Regions from separate parts of the Homo sapiens genome. Here region 1 is linked to region 2. Evidence: promoter capture Hi-C in 16 types of primary human blood cells and fetal thymus (Javierre and others, 2016). All regions are on one chromosome and are shown on one strand. Each heading gives the region's core, a stretch centred on a gene start or on the middle of the fragment in contact. The rest is flanking DNA. Distances are from core to core; before and after follow the strand shown.

Region 1 (5,089 bases), core at 2,321-4,820, 8.0 Mb after region 2:
TGAAACCCGTCTCTACTAAAAATACAAAAATTAGGCGGGCGTGGTGGCGGGAGCCTGTAGTCCCAGCTACTTAGGAGGCTGAGGCAGGAGAATGGCGTGAACCTGGGAGGCGGAGCTTGCAGTGAGCCAAGATCGCGCCATTGCACTCCAGCCTGGGCGACAGAGCAAGACTCCGTCTCAAAAAAACAAACAAACAAACAAAAAAAAAACAGAAACAGAAAACTGGTTTGACCCAGGTATATCCAAACTTAAAATGTGTATAATCTCTGAGCAATTATACTTTTAGGAATTAATTGTGAAGAACTCATATACAGGTAAAATGACATATGCACAAGGATATTTATTACAGCATTGTTTGTTACAGTGAAAAACTAGAAAAAGCCTAAATGATGATTGGCCACAGATTGGTTAAATAAATAAAGTTATGGCCAGGCGCGGTGGCTCATACCTGTAATCTTAGCACATTGGGAGGTGGAGTCGGGCGGATCATGAGGTCAGGAGATCGAGACCATCCTGGCTAACAGAGTGAAACCCCATCACTACTAAAAATACAAAAAATTAGCCGGGCGTGGTGGCACATGCCTGTAGTCCCAGCTACTTGGGAGGCTGAGGCAGAAGAATCGCTTGAACCCAGGACGCGGAGGTTGCAGTGAGCCAAGATTGCACCACTGCACTCCAGCCTGGGGGACAGAGTGAGACTCTGTCTCAAAAAGAAAAGAAAAAAAAAATTAAGTTATATCCATTTAATGGACTGCAATGTAGCTATTAAACCAGTTATGTAACACAATATGTGCTAATTGGGACTTCATTCCAAGATATGTAAAGTAAAAATAGCAACGTGTATAAGTAGTGTGTATAATATGAGTTAAAAAAATCTATATGTATGTATGTGTGTGTATATAAACATATATTCTCCAAGCCATATTGAGTTGCCCTAATCCATCCTGCTCCAGTTACAGCCTGGTATCTTTGAAGCTAGGGATGATAGAGACATTTGCCCATTCTCCTCACTGATACCCCACAAGCATTTCTGAAGCATGAACAGAAGGAAAATGATCATTCTGGGCCAGGAGCTGTGAGGAAAGTGGGGTCTTATCTATCTTCTTTTGCCTCTCCCAGCTCTACCCTTCTCCAAAAGAAGAGCCAAGAGAAGGTCCTTTTCTACAAATATCAGAGCCATGGCTCAGGTGAGATACTGTTTCCTTTTGCTCAGATAGAGTGATTTTTACTTCTAGTAACTGTAAACATTTGCTTTCCTCATGATGATGCTTTTTGATGTTAGAAAAACAACACCTTTCAAAAAGTTTGGTTATGAGCAATGTCAGAATTTTGCTGTAAAGGAAAGGATCTCTAACAGGCCAATTCATAGAAAAAAAAAGAATTGATTACATAATCATTGTTAGAAAATTTACCCTTTTTTTTTTTTTTTCGAGATGGAGTCTCGCTCTGTCTTCTAGGCTGGAGTACAGTGGCACAATCTTGGCTTACTGCAACCTCTGCCTCCAGGGTTCAAGTGATTCTCCTACTTCAGCCTCCTGAGTAGCTGGGATTACAGGCGCCCACAACCACACCCAGCTAATTTTTGTATTTTTAGTAGAGATGAGTTTTTGCCATGTTGTCCAGGCTGGCCTCGAATTCCTGACCTCAAGTTATCCACCCGCCTCAGCCTCCCAAAGAGCTGGGATTATAAGCATGAGCCACTGTGCCCAGAAAAAAATTTATATTAATTCACTGTTAACTGTTAGTCAGCCAAGTGGTTGAATAACAAATTTCTCTGAAGAAGTTTTAATTTAGATTAATGTCCATCAGAAAATCCCCTATCAGTTTCATCAAGAATACTTATTTCTTTCTTTCCATAAAGAGATTTAAGAATTATGTAATGTAAAAATTATGTAATGTAAAAACCTGACCCAGATCAGGTTTGGAATAATTTTTTTTACACTGGTTTCCAGGGTCCCCTGTCAGGAAAAGGACATGCATTTCCTCCTAAACAACCCCAGTCTCCTCTTCAGTTCCCCGCCGCCCCCCGCTTTTAAACAATGTTTACATGCTGGTTTACAAGTCCTTCAGCATCTCCTATCTCAGATTTCTACCAAAAATCCTGATAGGGCAGAAATGTGTTCCCCACATTGAATTAATATGAATTTAATTTGCTTGGACAGTGATTTGATGGGATGAAAATAAGTAATTAGGGGCACCTTATAGGGAAAAGCCCTCATTAGCTCTGTAGACCTGGGTTTTCCAATAAGAAAATACATGCTGTGGTTTTGTTTGATTTCAGTCCTAGTACATGGCAAGGTCTCCTGGTTAACGAGCCTTTTATGTTTGAGAGTGTGACTAGTGGTTGTTACAAAGCTCTCACACCTCACTAAGCATCCATGAAAAATTGATGTCAGTGGCCAAACGTGGTGACTCACACCTGTAATTCCAGCATTTTGGGAGGTTGAGGCTGGTGGTTTGCTTGAACCCAGGTGACTAGCCTGGGCAACATGGCAAACCCCATCTCTACAAAAAATACAAAAATTAGCCAGGCATGTTGGTGCACGCCTGTAGTCCCAGCTACTCGGGAGGCTGAGGTGGGAGGATCACTTGAGCCCAGGAAGTCATGGCTGCAGTGAGATGTGATCATGCCACTGCACTTTGGCCTGGGTGATAGAGGAAGATCCTGTTTAAAAAACAAAAGCAATGATGTCAGTAATACCAACGGTGAAACTGGATCATCCTTCACCAGTTTTCTGTAGCTTAGTTATAAGGGGAATTTACAGCTGGGCAGTAGGTGGTTATAAATAAGATTGGGCCAATGTTGGCGAGGTCTTTAGAGATCACCTCTAGCCTGAATTTCTAAAGGCAAAAGGATAGATGTCATTTATAGCCTTATAATAGAATAGTATTCAGTGAGAAACATATGAATAGCATTTGTTGTAACAAGGAATATTTCTTATTATATAATAGTCTGGCATAGGAATGGATCAGAGTCTTAAATTATATGCAAATTTAATTTTCTAAGATACAAAGTTTTTAAAAGTAATTTTACACATGTCTACAAGGGAAATAGTTCAATTCTGGTTTTGTCCCGTTACCAGACCCACTCCAAGAGGCCACTGCCCTCAACTCTTGAAAATTGGTTTACTACCATTTTTCGATAAACCCACTTTAGTCATTATCTCTTGACTGATTGCAAAGTTAAAGGGAACATTGTATTCCCATACTGCACTTTCGTTTTTCCTGACTGTTACCATATCACCATTTTTGGTTAAATCAATAGTATACACCTTATTACGGCTGCAAATATTATTCTCTGCCAAGCGAGCTCATGGCTTTGTTCTATACAACCCTTCATTTTCCTGGGGTTAATTGCTTCCCCCCTCATTTGCCTAGTCATTTGTGTGTTTATATCCAGAATCTCCAGCATCATTGCCACAGGCCAATCAATACGTTTTCCCTCTGGTCAGACACATCAGTTCCTTTTGATATAGAGACTTGATTCCCCATTTCCTGTTTCCTTGTTCCCATCTGGTCTGGTTTACTCTCTCAGTCACAGCTTTCCTGAAACTTTACCTACTTCCTGAATCCTATGTTGTCTTCTTTTTTTGTTTACTCCCTCGTTTTTGTGGACCACATCCTCTAGAAGTTTCTGAAGAAACTCTTCTTGAGTCCTTGGATGTCTACAAATGTCTTTTCTCAACACTCAAAACAGAATGATAGTTTGTTTATGAAAGTCTAGGTCAGAGTTTATTTTCTCCATCAGAATATTGAAGAATCGTTCTTATTGTTTCTTGCTTTTAGAGGTGTTCTTGAGAATTCCATTGCCCCTCTAATTTTTGATGCCTTTTATATGACCTGCTCTTCTCTCTGGTGGCTTTTAATGTCTTTATCCCTTATTCTGAAATTTGACTCTCAGCTATTTGGGAAAAGAGAGGGAGAAAGATCACATGTATCGTTGATTTATTATATGACAGGTATAGTGTGAGGCATTGCATATACAATTTCATTTAATTGGAAAAGCCCTCTTAGCTGAATTTTTGTACCTTCCCAACCTTGTTTGGATAATGGAGGTATCCTAGCATACTCAGGCAGTTTCATTTGGAGGAAACAGAATGACCTGGAAACCCAGTGATTCAGTTGTGCTTATTTGTTTACAGTCCTCCACTGCTTCCCAGACATTCATATGCTCACTATATTTTACTTCCTCTACCTTAATCTTTTTCTTCTCTCTTTCCTTCACAAAAGTACTTTTTAAAAAATTAATGAAGTCATATACGTGGTTATTGTTCCAGGAGTCAGTGATGTTCAGTGATGTGTCCGTAGACTTCTCTCAGGAGGAGTGGGAATGCCTGAATGATGATCAGAGAGATTTATACAGAGATGTGATGTTGGAGAATTACAGCAACCTGGTTTCAATGGGTAAGGACATCTGTCCATAGTAATTTAGATTCTGCCCTTGGAAGGCCTACTTCCTCCAATGTGAAATGCTCACCTGGCTTTCAAAAACCAGTCGAATTTTGATATCCTGTTCCACAGGAATGTTCTGAATATGGTAGAGTTAGAAAAAGGAAGCTGCATTGAGTTTTTGGGGATGTTTTACATCTTCCGTTATGTTTCATAAGTCCGTTGTACCTCTCTTTGACTCTTCTCATAATGCCATGTCTTTCTTTATAATGAAGGGACTGGATTTGAATTCTAGGATATGCTCATGATAAATTTGTTTTGTTACTTCTTTTGTAAGCAGGGCATTCTATTTCTAAACCAAATGTGATCTCCTACTTGGAGCAAGGGAAGGAGCCCTGGTTGGCTGACAGAGAGCTAACAAGAGGCCAGTGGCCAGGTAAGTGAGGCACAGCAGGTAATGCGTGATTTGGCTGGTAGAGAGACTGCATCTTTTAGATGCTATCTGGGAAACTCTCCTCACAGGCTTTTGGCCTGTTGTGCAAATGTAAGACCTTTTCTACATGAGCTTTCAAATGATCCTACCTTTCCCCTTTACCTAACACACTTTGCCTGCTTTTCTCCTCTTATCCTTCTCTCTCAGTTCTAACCAGCTGGTGCCCTCCTCCACCCTTTCTAGTGATATTCTTTTCTATCCATATTT
Region 2 (5,043 bases), core at 2,227-4,726:
CTGGGCTATCATCACCCCTCAGCTGTGCAGTGGGACCCTCCTGCCTGCTGACGTGGCTGCTGGCGCCCGTGCCAGCGTGAACCCCAAACCTGTCCGTGTTTCTGCGGGCGACGCCACCGGGGACATCCCTAGCTTGACCCCCTTTCCTGGCAGTGACACTGTCGGTATGATCCCGCGTTCTCAGATCTCTGATGTATACGTATGACTGTTTTCCCTGCGCTCGGTTTCTTCCATTCACAGGCCTTCTCATTGTCTCTCTTTCGGCCTCCATTTCAGACATTTCCTCATTCTCTTTCCCTGTGTCTGCCCCTGTCTCCACGTGGATGCCCTGGATAAGATTCACCCGTTTAAGGTGATGGATTTCTACTTCTTTGAATAATGCTGCTATGAACACTCCTGTACAATATTTAGTTTGGACAAATGTTTTCTCTTGGTTCATACCTAGGTGTGGAATTGCTGCATCATTTGGAGACTTCTATGATGTTTAACATGTTGAGGATCTTCCAGATTATTTTCCAATATGGCTGTAGATTTTGAAATTCCTACCAGCAGTGCCGGAATGTTACAGCTTCTTTACATGATCGTCAGCATTTTTTATTTTCTGTTTTTTTTTTGTGTGTGTGTGTGATTTAGTTTCACTCTTGTTGCCCAAGCTGGAGTGCGGTGGTGCGATCTCGGCTCACTGCAACCTCTGCCTCCCGAATAGCTGGGATTACGGATGCATGCTACCACACCCAGCTAATTTTTTGTATTTTTAGTAGAAAAGGGGCTTTACCATGTTAGCTAGACTGGTCTCGAACTCCAGACCTCAGGTGATCCGCCCACCTCAGCCTCCCAAAGTTCTGGGATGCAGGCGTGAGCCACTGTGCCCAGCCTATTTTCTGCTTTTCAATCCTGACCATTCTAGTGAGTGTGAAGTAGCACCATTGTTTTGACTTCCATTTCCCTAATGACTGAGGATGTGGAGAGTCATTTCATGTGTCTCTTGCCTATTTGTTTATTTTCGTTTAAGATATGTCTACGGAAATACCTTGCCTACTTAAAATTGGGTTATTTTTTCTTAACAATAACAAAACTGTTAGGGAGTCGGAAATTACAGCAGTTTCAAATTCAGTTGACACACGGTTTCTACAGTGTTTTGCAGTTTGTATGAGGTAGGATGAAGGCTGAATATTTACCTTGGGCCTTGGAATGGATTCATCTACCCACACTTTGTGCAGGTTGGCTCTTAGCTTCCAGGTCAAGACACCTTTTTAAAATAATTATTTTTATGTTTATTTTATTATTATTATTTTTTGAGATGGAGTCTTGCGCTGTCGCCCAGGCTAGAGTGCAGTGGTTTGATCTCGGCTCACTGCAAGCTCCTTCTCCCGGGTTCATACTATTCTCCTGCCTCAGCCTCCTGACTAGCTGTGACTACAGGCACCCCCCACCATGCCCGGCTAATTTTTTTTGTTTTCTTTTTTGTATTTTTAGTAGAGATGGGGTTTCACCGTGTTAGCCAGGATGGTCTCGATCTCCTGACCTCGTGATCTGCCTGCCTCGGCCTCCCAAAGTGCTCTGATTACAGGCATGAGCCACCGTGCCCGGCCAAGACACTTGATTGAATTGCTTAAGTGCTTCCCATGTGCCAGAGCCATGAAAGGTAAATAAAGAAAATAAAGAAAAAGAAGAGTCAATTATTTTGATGACTTAGAGATCTGACCATGGAGGCCATGTGAAAGGTGGTAACCAGCAATTTAAACCATGTGTTGCTGGATCCCAGAGTAATATAATTTATTGATTTCTCGGGGAAATGAGAATGTTCTGAGAGTGGTATTTAACATCCACTACACTCGCATGAAATTCTCCCAATCACAGACTGATCTGTTCATTGAATTATGATATAGAGTTCAAAAACACTCGATAGAGGAAATTATATTCAAGTTGTGTCTTAAATATGGAGTAAGATTTTAATAGTACAGGAAAGGATGGACTTACAGAGGGAAGAACAATAGCAGCAAATTCAGACATTTGTAAAACTGGAGGACACAGGATGGGAAGTAGGACTGTGTCTACCCAAGCAAAGAGGGGTGGGTTTGGAACCAAATATCTGAAGGGCTTGGATGCTTTGGAGTCAATTGGCAATTTTTTAGAATTTATCAAAACAATTCGATAATCTGTTTATAAGAGAGAGTTCTAGAACTTCTAGGATGAAATTTTTGAAACACAACAAGGAGGGAGAGATAAGGAAATGAGTTATCACTGTAACTGAAACCTTTCATCATGGCACAGAAAAAGCAATCTCTATCTTCAGAACACACTTGTATCCCAGAAAATATTTCATTATATATATAGTAATGTAGTAAGTGATTAGGATGCCGTTTAAATCAGAAAGGAAAGAATTAATATTTATGTAAATTTTGTTAAGAAAAGTAGACAATCCTTTGGTGAAACAGGAAACTCCATCTTCCTTTCATATCATACACTTAAATGAATCACGCGGTGATTCAAAAGAAAAATGAAAGAGCCTGAAATGAATATAGATATGCACTTATTGGGAATCAGGCTAAGGAATGTCTTTTTGGTCATACTGGAGAAAAAAAAGAAGCCACAAATGAAAAGACTGATATACCTTGTCAGATGAAGTTTTTTGTTTTTTTTTTTTTCTAAACTACTTTATAAATGTTGAAACTGGGGGAGCAATTCATCACTTAGAAGCGATATCATTCATACACAGAGAGTGTATGACAATAAAAGATGACAATGAAATGCAATCGGTAATAAGCATATTTACTCTGTCAAATTGGGAAAATAAGACAGGATATTTAGTCCATCAAATTGGGAAAATATTAAAGAAAGTGATTGTGTGTAGTTTTGATATCATAAAATTAGAAGTGTAAGTTCAATGCAGGACAAAGGGGTAACTTCCCTAAAAACTAAAGAATGCTAGGCAAGTATTGCAAATAATTTGTGTTTTTTTATTATCTCTATGTATCTCTACGTCTTTTGTGACATACAGAACTATCCACGATATATGACCTGTGGCAAGAAATGATTACAAAATATTATGATGCCATTTGGGAAATGGGATTCTTAAGAATTCATATTTACTCACATAAACCAGGGATTAAGTAAGAATTTTTTTTAAACCATTCTTTACATGTAATATGAACTACTTTTGAAATAAATATTTAGTTGGCTTTTACACCAGAAAATCAATAATGCTTTATATCCCTGGTGATGGGATGATGGGCTTGTTTGAGAATATAGTCAGGTTTGCTACAACGCGAATATGTTAGTACTGAGTAAAGACATTCTTTTCAACTCAGAAACACCTTGCATGCCGCCTCCCGCCGCCTCGCAGTGGGCGTGACTCGAGGTGGACGCGCATTTACGACACCATCGCCCCTAGGATCGGACTGCGCTGCGGAGGGTTCTGGGAAAGGTAGTCCCACACCTCGAGTCGACTACTTCCGTTTCCGGTGGGCGCGTCACCTTGATTGCTTCTTAGGCAGTGGTGAGGCGTCTTAGAGACGTGCATCTCCATGCGGTTGTACTGTCAGGCCATGGGAATTAGGATCGGCTCTATAGGACCAGTGTGAAGGGACAACGTGCGGCGGAGGGTCGAAGCCCACGGATTTCCATGAGCTCGGCCTGGTGAGGCAGGGGTGTAAGGAGGCGCACGTATCGAACATTCTGAGCGCCTGTGCGGGGTGGGCCCGGGTCGGCAGCCCTCGCAGTCCAGGCTTGGAAAAGCAGTTTGAGGCCAGCTCTGGCTTTGAGATGAGATCTGCAGTGCGGGAGACTCCACTGTGTCAGTTGCGGATCGATGACATGAATTTTCTCAGGGTAGCCGCCCACCCACTTGTGGAGTAATTTCAGAGTTTTCTGCGAAGTCATTTCTGTAAACAGGAAGTTGATTCCCTGTGTTCTAATTTTATCCTTTGAAATGTATTAAGCGCTGTGCAAGTCCTAGGAGTTGGTTTGCTGTATCGTTGCTGGCTCTGCTTTTTGTAGCCGCCTAAGCACACACAGGCAGAATTTCACTTGTAAGTGTCCCACAGCATGTGACAGTCAGCTCTGGATTAAAATCTTGAGATTTTGTCTTGATTCTCCTTGTCTCCTGAAAGGGGCAGTGAAAGTAGGCTTGTAGACGGTTTCTTTGGGCATCAGGAATGGCGTGTCCCTTGTACTCTGAGTCCTGTAGGAAGAGAGGTTCTTTTCCTCGGCTCCTGAAGCAAGTAGCGAGGGTAGATTACAGGAAGGGGTAGATTACATCCAGCTGGCACTGAGAGATTTCCCCCTGTGGCGTGGTGGGAATTGGGATTAAATCATGTTATCCTGCTGTTCATTTTTCTTTCACAGGCTTCCTTCTTGGAATTGTTCGTTTCTCGGAGATAATTGTATAAAAGAAGGAGAAATAACCCCACATCTCTTGACACTAGAGCTCCAGGTGAGTGAACTTTGGTTCTCTTTTGTGGCAATGCCAGGTCTCTTGGTGACCTCATTCTTCATCCCATTGATATCACAAATGTTCATTCAGACCCCTTAGCCACACCTGCCTTCCCCTAGAAATGGGGGAGGTTTGAGGAATTTCCCAGTGTCTTTATTTAGTGTATTCTCTTCTTGGCTCCTAGTAGTGTGTCACTGGGTCAGTAAAGGCTTACACTGTTTCAGCGCCATGCTGAAGAAACGCAGGGTAGAAATAATTAGAGTAACTGTGATGGTGTATATTAACTGAGTGCTTACTATATGCCAGGTATTATTTATCCATGGTGTCTAGGACAGTGCCAGGCTTGCCAATAAATATTTGAATAAATGAATGTATTTCTATTGAATTTTCTGAGCAAGTTTGTATGTTAGCTATTATCCCCATGTCACAGATGAGTTGCTAAGGTTTAAAAAGTTAAAAAAACTTAACAGGTAAGACCTGGCCAGGAGACCTTCTAAACAGAAACCAGGTCTTTGCGCTTATGCTTCCTTCTGGACTTGTCTCATCCCAGCTTTTTTCACAGCTGATTTATTTGTCAGGCAGCTCTTAGAGACTGTCCCTGACCACCT

What was found. Contacts are between HindIII fragments. The CHiCAGO score rates a contact against its expected background, and 5 or more counts as called.
Region 1: a fragment that was not itself captured here is called in contact with the fragment with the promoter of ZNF229 in region 2 in 1 of 17 cell types (non-activated CD4 T cells); the score reaches 6.1 in non-activated CD4 T cells.

What each region holds. Positions count from the first base shown.
Region 1 is chr19:36,472,647-36,477,735 of GRCh38, reverse strand. ZNF566 (zinc finger protein 566) reads left to right here. Exons shown (of 5, transcript NM_001145344.1): 2 at 1,120-1,187; 3 at 4,278-4,404; 4 at 4,730-4,825. The coding sequence starts at 1,179. Among named protein-coding and RNA genes, the nearest start is that of ZNF566, 14 kb to the left of the region's middle. The HindIII fragment of the contact is 7,755 bases long and covers 1-5,089 here.
Region 2 is chr19:44,446,905-44,451,947 of GRCh38, reverse strand. It overlaps ZNF229 (zinc finger protein 229), which reads left to right and starts at 3,476. Exons shown (of 6, transcript NM_014518.4): 1 at 3,476-3,639; 2 at 4,348-4,435. The HindIII fragment of the contact is 11,359 bases long and covers 1-5,043 here.